Linked DNA regions of Homo sapiens: region 1 is linked to region 2. Evidence: promoter capture Hi-C in 16 types of primary human blood cells and fetal thymus (Javierre and others, 2016). All regions are on one chromosome and are shown on one strand. Each heading gives the region's core, a stretch centred on a gene start or on the middle of the fragment in contact. The rest is flanking DNA. Distances are from core to core; before and after follow the strand shown. Region 1 holds the start of MTMR6 (myotubularin related protein 6). Region 2 holds the start of POMP (proteasome maturation protein).

Region 1 (4,688 bases), core at 1,848-4,347, 3.4 Mb after region 2:
CCAGCACTTTGGGAGGCTGAGGCAGGCAGATCACTTGAGCCCGAGAGTTTGAGACCAGCATGGGCAACATGGAAAAAACCCGTCTCTACAAAAAATACAAAAATTAGTCAGGCTTGGTGGTGCACGCCTGTAGTCCCAGTTACTCAGGAGGTTGAGGTGGGAAGATTGCTTGAACCTGAGGGGTTGAGGCTGTAGTGAGCTGAGATTGTGCCACTGCACTCCAACCTCAGTGACACAGTGAGACCCTGTCTCAAAAATAAATAAATAAAAATAAAACAAAATAAAAAGAAAGGAGAAAGGACAGGAGGGAAATAGGAAAGAAGAAAGATGAGGGAGAGAAGAGAGGTGAGAAGAATAAAAAAAATTTTTAAAGGGAAAAAAGAAAAAGGAAGAAGGAAAAAGAACGAAACAGTAATTATTACAGAAATAATACAAGAAAATGTCCCAGAATTGAAGGACTTATGTTTTCAGATTACAGAGCTCAAAACACTGGGCAGAAAAATAAACAAGAAAGCTAAGTTTTATTATGTTGAAATTTTAGACCATTGGAGATAAAGAGATCCAAAAAGCATCCTGAGAAAGTAGAAGCGACACCTAAAGGGAAATCGGAATGCCAGCGGATTTCTGAACAACTGCATTGAAAGTCAGGATATGTCTCTGGGAGCTTTCAAAATCCTAATTAAAATTACAGAATTCTAGACCTAGCCAAACTTCCCGTCAAGGATTTATGCTCCATTCACCCTTTCTCAGGAAGTTAATACAGAATATACTACATCAGAATAAAACAATGCAAGTAAGTAAATCAAGAAAGATAAACCACAGGATCTAAAAATTCAGCACAAGTAACCAACACATTTCTCAGGCCCATGGTGAGGAGAGTCCCAGGATAATATCCATTCAGTAGGCTCAGAGAACACAAGTGCAAACTGGAGCAAAAGGAGAAAAGGCTCCTAGAAGCATCTGGAGACCTCTAAAGAGATGTCTCGAGGAAAGATAATGGAACTGAGTGATTGCCAGATTTAACCATAAGGAATATTCTATCTAGTGCAAGAGTATTCAACTCAAGAGTCAAAGAAACGTCATTTAATATTTTATCTGTTATTTTACTTTCTTTCTGTAAAGCTAGGTAATTTTCTAGCCTATCATATTAACATAAATAGAACTTTAATATGGATTTTGAGAAGCAAATCAATGTAAAACAGTTGTTAAGAATACAGACTCTGAAGTCAGCCTGTCTGGCTTTATAACATGGATCTTGGCTTTATCTGCTATGTGATATTGGGCAAGTTACTTCACTTCATTGTGTCTCGCTTGTCTCATCTCTAAAATAAAGAAAGCAATAGCATTTTCCTCAGAATACCCGTAAAGCACTCAGTACATTTGGTCACCTGACATCATTATGATTGCCTCTCTGTGAGAATTGGTAAAGAGAGGACACAGGAAGTGAGGAGATGAGAAGAGGGAGGATAATCTGTAGGGGAATGGGGAAGGAGGAAGTTGTAAATTGGGAGGAAAATGATATAAAAAGTTTTGTTAAGAAAGTCTTGCTGTATGCTATACAATTCACCTCTTTCTGTTTTCTCAAAAAGCAATCCTCAGTAAAGACCTACATTACTTTTCTCTCTCTCTATATATATATATATGTGTATATATATATATATGTATATATATATATATATATATGTGTATATATATATATATATATATTTTTTTTTTTTTCTGAGCAGGATTTGTGGGGTTTTTTTTCGGGGGGAGGGGGTGGATGTGATACTGTACTAAGGTTGGTTTCTAGGTGGTTTAATGTAACTCTTATTACATATTTAGCTTAGAGGAGTCAGCAACTCCACCGCAAAGGCTGTTGTGTTTAATAACCATCTCCATTGCTTTGGCAATCTGTCTGAAACATCGTAGGCACTCAAAACAAAACAAACCAAGACAACTTGAACAAAATGAAACAAATAAGTGAAACAAAATTTTTAATTATAAAAGAAAATTTAGATGTTAGGCTTTTCTAACACCAATCACAGTATGAAAGATGAAGATTACAAACCTTAACCGGCTTAGTACAGAATACTTACAAAACGTAGAGCAGAGTTTCTCGGACTCTAACTCCTGACCTCAAGTGATCCGCCCGCCTCAGCCTCCCAAAGTTCTGGGATTACAGGCGTGAACCACCGCGCCTGGCATAGAGCAGGGTTTCTCAACCTCTGCACTGTTGTCATCTGCCGGATAATTCCCTGTAGTTGGGGGGTTGGTCTGGTGCCTAGTAGGGTGTTCAGCAGCCGACTTGTGACTTGGCCTCCACCCACCAGTTGCCCCCCGCCGCCACCCCCCCACCACCACCATTTGAGACAACCAAAAATATCTCCAGATGTTACCAAATGTCCCCCGGGGAGAAAACTCACTCCAGGCTGAGAAGTACCACATTAGACGTGTTCTAACAAAAATTACCTGTAACCCTCACCTAGAAATGTAAACTTTTTGTTTACATAAATAAAAATTACAGAGCACGGCTACATTGAACTTATTGTTCCATAGTCAGTTTTTTCTTCACTCAGTAATGCAGCATTAACATTTTCGTTATGTGATATCCCTCTACAGGATGAGTTTTAATGGATGCTGGTGCTAACATCGTATGAAATTGAGGTAGGAGGCGGGACTCTGACACCAGACCAGATTGAGGACTAGCTAATCATCATACTTTACATAAGGAATCCGTAGGATTGGAGAGTTGATTGTTTCAAATAAGGCTGGTTTCCTTATTTGGTTATTTCCTTAGAATAATAACTCCAAATCTGATTATTTCCTTAGAATACATTCTTATGAGTAGAACTGCAGCTCAAACTAAATTTGGTGCTGTCCAGTGGTATGGCGATGGACTTCAGAACATCCTCCACTCTTGCCCTCACCCCACAAGAACCCTTTACTCGGGATCCATTCTCACGCAGTCTTCCTCCCCGACCGCCCCGCGCGTCCGCTCGGCGGGATGACAAAGACCGCCTCGGGTGGGGTGGTGAGCAGTACCGGCCTCCTCCAGCAGGGGGCGCTGTGGGATCCGCCGCTGTCCGGGACGAACCAGCAAGCCGCTCTCGGTCCACACACGCTCTGTCTGCCTGCCCCGAGTCCCCCGGGAGGCCGCGGGGTTTGGGGAAGTGTTTCTAGGAGACGGCGCTCACCGGCTGCACCTGCGCCGTTGACGCCACCGGGGCCGGCAGACAGACCCGCGGCGCTGGCTGGTGGAGGGAGTTCCCGCTTGCTCTCTGTCGCTGTCACCGCCCTGTTTCTGTAGCCGTATGGTACGCCTGTGAGACCGGCTGCCGGCTGACGTCTCCTTGCGATGGAGCATATCCGGACGACCAAGGTAGTCGGGCGCGGGATCGCCAGTCTTCAGGGGCCCTGCTCTGACCCGGCTGAGGCAGGAGGAGACGAAGGCTCTGCTGGCCTGACTGGGGCTGGGAGCCGGCCCGGCGGAGACCCGGCCCGGGGCGGGAGGGTCTGGCCAGGCCTGGTCTGGGAGGGCAGGGTTAGCTTGGGCCAAGCGGGGTGCAGAGGCCTCCTGTACCTACAGGAGCAGGGGTCCCACTTTCAGCATCTTGGAGTGCGTAGAGATAAGTCTGGGAAAACTGGTCACCGCCCTCCTAGCTCTACGTTTTCTCGGGCAAAATTGGGGCTCCTTTAACTTTGGAGTCTTTCAGCCTTTCGTTGCCTCATCAACCGGAAAACCGTCTTCAAATTAACATTATGATGCTGTGTAAGCTTGTCCTTGCTCACATTTCATTGTCCCGTGTCACAGATTCACAGTACGAGTTTTGGAGGAACCGAGATCAGCACTCCGCTCCACCTCCCTTTGCTGTCTCGGTCTCCAGTCTTTCGCATCCGGTGTTTCCGTGTCTGTGCTTCATACTTCAGGCATTGTCCTGTGTCAGTAGTCAAGAGTTCTGGAGAAGGGAAAAATGTTATTCCATATTTTAAAAGGTCGGATGCAGCTTTATTCGATTGACCTTATTGCACTCCATGCTTAATTTTTGTGTGTGGAAGACCTTCATTTTGAGAACGAACAAATATTTTTATTTCGTTACAAATTTAAAAACGGAAGGAAATGACATCAGAATGTTACCAAATTACGTTTCCAACGACATTTAAGTTTAACTTTGAGAGGGAGAAAAACATAAATCGAGACGAGAAGAATAACATTTTAAAATCACTGCGAGCCCACTGCAAGGCAGCCTCTTGACGTTTTGGCAAAGCTGAAGCCCTTTAGTTGCTGCCCATCTTAAAATTACGGCTCATTTAGGGAACCACAGATGTTCGTTATCTTCATTGTTCCAAGAAGAATTTGTGTTTTTAAAAATTTTTTAAATGTTTCACAAACCTTTTAAAGGTATACATAAATTTTTATTGGAGCTTGTCTTTAACATTGTGCATACCGTATCTAGTAAAATTGAAGATTCTGAAAACTAACCCCTTAACATTTTTTTTTAAGAGAAGAAAGATAAAATAACTTGAGAATTCAAGTTGTGGGTACTTAAATTTTGAAAATGGAAGGGTGCTTAAGTCTATAACCAAACTCGTAGAAGGTGCACAGAGGAAAAGAGGACTAGAGTGGACATTGGATCAGGTTCTTGTATTGGTTCCAGATATGTATTATGTAGTAGCTAAGTGCACGTGACTTCCTTCTGCATCAGTTC
Region 2 (4,741 bases), core at 89-2,588:
AGCCTACCTTAAATGTGCTCAGAACACTTACACTAGCCTACAGTCGGCCAAAATCATCTAATACAAAGCCTACTTTATTAAAAAGTACTGGGTATCTCATGTAATTTATTGAATACTGTACTGAAAGTGAAAAACAGAATGGCTGTATTGGTACTCAAATATGGCCTCTACTGACTGTGTATGGATTTCACACCATCATAAAGTCAGAAGATTGTTGAACCACCAGAAGTTGGGGACCTTCAGCAGAGATGTGTGATTGTTGCTTTCCAAATGTATCTTCTATTACTTCCCTATATGAACATTCTCCTCCTTCTGGACTGCTTTATTGTAAAGTAACAAGGTTTCAACGCACAAAGAAAAGGTGAATTCTGACTTCTGGATTCTGTTATTGTCATTTTTCCCAATTTCCTTCTGTAAAATATCAAGATTAGTACTTGCTGTTTCTAATAAAGGAAGGAGCCGAGAAAGGCAAATCTACGAAAACCTAACTACTAGTTACATTTGAGAGTGCCTAAAAAACTTTTTAGATAACGATTAGCAGTATTTACCAATAGAAACTTTCTAGATTTGGATGGATGGCCTACCAGCAGTACCGATATCAGAGTCTGTGGCAATGGTGACTCAGTGTTCTTCTCAAATACCACAACTTCTAAGTTAAAAAGAAAGAGAAAGTGGTGGGGAGGAGAAGGAGGGAGGAGATATACTAACAATACTGGCAAACAGGGAATAGCAACTGTCTGATTTTTTCCCCTCTAACATCTAGCACACTACAAGCTCTCAAAAAAGTTTGTAGAGCAAAGCTGCGTTACACAAATGCGACCTATAGTTGTGGGCTGTTTACTAGGCAGTTACAAGGGCGGGGGCTGGGGGAGATGAGGAGTCTGAGAGCTCTGGGCTCCCAGAGGTTACCCGTCAAGGAAAGGGTCGCCAGCGCCACCCCACAGAACGTTGCACTTTCACGGCTGCCTTTTCCACTTCTGCGCCAAGTAAGGGGAGGAGGTCTGGGCCTGCTGGGGTCTAAGGGATGGAAGGGCGCAAACCGAGCTAAGAGGAGCAGGATGAAGCCGAAGCACTGCTAGTGGGACTAGTGCCGGGCCCCGGCGACAGTCACGACCCACCCAAACCCCGTGACTCGACAGATTATGGCGCCTGAGGCCGGCCTCAGCCCCACGCTGCCGCCGCCGCCGCCACCGGGGACGGGTTGGGAGGCGACTGCCTGTTTCTGCCGAGCCACGGTCCCGAGCCCGCGTGGAACTCCAGCCGCCCGGGTACCCACTCACCATCTTCCGCAGCTCTGCGAACAGCCTCTCTGCCCCGTTACCGTCAGTCGACCCCGCCGCTCACTTCCGTTTCCGAGGGCTGGCCCCCACATCCGCCGGAAGTGCGTCCGTCCTGGCGAGGAAGGAAGGAGGGCGCGGGACGCCGGAGGGAGCTGCGCGGGGCCGAGGCTCCCACGCTTGCAATCCCAAGGGACCCAGGGCCAAGGGCGCAGTAAGGGTGTGGGCTGGGAGGAGGGAGGGGTCGGGACGAGACGTGCCTGAGGGGAGGGAAGACACGGACTCCGGTTTATTAATAAACATCTACGGTTTGTACGGCATTTTAAGATGTGCAGTGTGCTTTTGTAGGTACATCGCCTTATTTAACACAAAACCTCTCTGAGGTAGCTATTACATTTCACAGAAGGGTAAACGAGGCGTAGGTGGTTTGAGTGATTTGCTTGAGATCGTTCGGCTAATAAAGCAAAATTGGGACACAAGGCTTTTGTCATTTTTAAAAAACATAATATTGAAGGCCTGGTATGTTCCGAACCCTGTGCTGAGGCTAGGAATACAAAAAAGGACCAGGCCGGTGTGGCCTCTGGGCTAGAGGAGCAGGGGTACTCCGGAGGCTAGAGGGGAGAGAGGGGACGATAGTGACTACAAATTAAGTAAATGTGATCATGACCGACATATGTTGGGCCCTTTGAATTGCGTTATCAACACAGTTCTAAGTGCTTACATCCTTTATCTCTTTTAATCTTTTCAATAACCTTACAAGTACAATTTACAGGTGAAGAAACCGAGACATGAAGGGCTTAAATAAATATGCCTAAGGACATATTTATGAGTCTAGAATCCATGCTCATTACACTATTCTGTATTGTTCAAATATAATGTAATAAAACGGCCTTATAGTCTGCTGCCACAGGATGGAGACATCTTAGGGAATCTTTGGACTGACAGCTAAAAGATAAGAGCGAACTAGTTTGGGGTAGTAGGATATTTAAAACAACATTACGTGCAGATCTGCTTGTGCAAAAACGGAACTGGAAAGAAGGCCTAAGTCTGGCTAAAGTTCAGAAAGTAAAGTGGAGAGTACTGTGAGATGAGGTTGTAAGTAGATGGAGGCAAGTGGTTTTTGTTGTTGTTTTTGTTTGTTTGTTCTAAATAATGATAGGGTTTAGCTATGTTGCCCAGGTCTGCGTTGAACTCCTGGGCTCAAGCGATTCTCCTGCTGCAGCCGGCTGAGTAATGGGAACTACAGGCGTGCATCATGGGACCTAGCTACAGGTTTTTTATGCAGCCTTTGTAGGCAAGATTAAGGATGAGGCTTTGTCTTTAAAAAGCCATCGAAGGATTTGAGAGAGGAAAATGATAAGGCCATATATGTTATGTATATCCACTGCCATGGTCATACAACTTTGAAGTTCCAGATGTTATGTGTTCTGCCATGCTGTCCTTTAGGTGTCTTCTGGTCCTTCACAATAGCCATGTTTAATCCTGAGATTTGAGTTGGAGTGTTTCGTTTGCATCTTTTTTTCTTTCCGTCAATTCCACCTGAGAAATTGTAAAACTGCGAATCTTTTCTTAAAAATCATTTTAACATTTGCTGATTGCTCACAGTTCAATGAATATGTATTGAACATTTGCTTGGTACTAGATTCTGGAGCTATAAAGAAGAAAAGAGCAATTCCCTGTACCTGAGATGCTTATATATTTTCCTGGGGAAATAGACATGCAAACAGATATTTAAAATGCAGCATGGGCTGGGTGCAGTGGCTCACACCTGTAATCCTAGCACTTTGGGAGCTGGAAGCAGGCAGATCACTTGAGGTCAGTAGTTCGACACCAGCCTGGCCAACATGGCAAAAGCCCATCTCTACTAAAGATACAAAAAAAAAAATTAGCCAGACATCATGGTGCATGCTTGTAGTCCCAGCTATTCAGGAGACTGAGGCACGAGAGTCGCTTGAACCTGAGAGGTAGAGGTTGCAGTGAGCAGAGATCACGCCACTGCACTCCAGCCTAGGTGACACAGCAAGACTCCATCTCAAATAATAATAATAAAATAATAAAATGCAGTGTGATAAATGCTTGATAGAGAAAGGGGCTAAACCAGAAAGTTGTTGGGAGCAGGAGAAAACAGCATTCACGGAAGAGGAACATGTAAAGGCAAGAGATCTGTGAAAAGTCGTGTTGTTATCTGAGTAATGGAAAACATTTCCCTGTGGCTGGAGCTCTGGGTGAGCAGGTGAAGCAAAATGAGATGAGGTTGGAGGGACAGGTTGGGGCCAAAACGAAGGGCCTTCTATGGTATGCTGAGGTTTAGGGCTTTTTCTTATAGACAACAGGAGATAATGGAGGTCTTTTCACAAACATTTGGCATTAAAAAAAAAAAATTCTGGTGGCAGCATGAAGGACAGACTAAGATTGGGAGAAAGTAGGAACCAGGATACCATTTAAGCCACTAATGGTACGCTAAGGTAGTGTCACATACTGGAAAGGCTTTGAAAGGAAGGAAAAAGTAGGAGTGAACCTAAGAAATACCAGAATTCAAAAGACAGCCAGAAGAAGGGGAGCCTGCTTTAAAGGCTATGCCATCTTCGAATCAAAAGGGCAAGGAAGTATTGAGAGGTTAGAAAGTAGTTCAAAAGTAGCTAAAAAGGGATCATAAAGCCCTGAAAATAGGCTTTTGGTGACCAGTGTGAAGAGTTGTTTTAGTGGCTCAGCAAGGAGAAAATTCCCTTTATTTTGAGTCTTACACTCAAGTTTATGTCCTATTTTAAATGGTTTGTTACAGTATTAACTAATACGGGGTACTTTTGAGTATGCTAAATAAGAAGTAAATTAGATTTGATGCTGGAATGATTTAATTATGTTTACTTAAGCTTTATGTTAAATAGCTTAGAGGATAGAACATTAGTAATGATAGCTAACATTTGTTACATGTCAGGCCAGGGTTTAGTTTTTTGCATATATTGTTTCAATTAATCCTGTGAGGTAGATACTATCATTATGCACATTTCACAGAAAATGCTGAGGCATTGTATGAGAACAAGCACCCTATTTTGTTTTACTTTTTGTAGTCGTCTTTGACTTTACTCTTAAGTCAGTCTGGTGACATAGCTAGGTAAACTGAGGACAAATTCAGCTTCATTCACATCTGGCAAGAACCCTCCTCCCTCCTCCTAGCTCTTTCCCCATTTGTTACCTCATCTGTCTCCTGTTTGGGTACTATTCTTGTACTTCATCTTGTCAGCTGAATTTGGGTCTTCTGACCTAAATTTTAGTGCTCCCTAACGATCTAAAATTACACTTAACTTTGCTCTTTTCTGTTATTTGCCTAAGCTTGGCCCTGGGCACCCAAACCCTATTACCCAGCCTGCTTGGTTAGCCCCCTCTTAAAAGCTGCTTTGTCTCCACAGCACAGTGCCTTGCATACTTTAGGCAGGTACTCAGCAGGATTTTGAAATCTAGTATGT

The links. The method cuts DNA at HindIII sites, captures the fragments that hold promoters and counts their contacts. A CHiCAGO score of 5 or more calls a contact.
Region 1: a contact is called between the fragment with the promoter of MTMR6 here and the fragment with the promoter of POMP in region 2, in 1 of 17 cell types (non-activated CD4 T cells). The highest score is 6.7, in non-activated CD4 T cells.

What each region holds. Positions count from the first base shown.
Region 1 is chr13:25,285,897-25,290,584 of GRCh38, reverse strand. It overlaps MTMR6 (myotubularin related protein 6), which reads left to right and starts at 3,097. Exons shown (of 14, transcript NM_004685.5): 1 at 3,097-3,361. The coding sequence starts at 3,338. RefSeq lists enhancers at 2,784-2,953, 3,054-3,393, 3,097-3,717. The HindIII fragment of the contact is 4,901 bases long and covers 1-3,758 here.
Region 2 is chr13:28,655,727-28,660,467 of GRCh38, reverse strand. POMP (proteasome maturation protein) reads right to left here and starts at 1,338. Exons shown (of 6, transcript NM_015932.6): 1 at 1,281-1,338. The coding sequence starts at 1,283. RefSeq lists a silencer at 1,406-1,465 and an enhancer at 1,686-1,845. The HindIII fragment of the contact is 5,788 bases long and covers 1-4,149 here.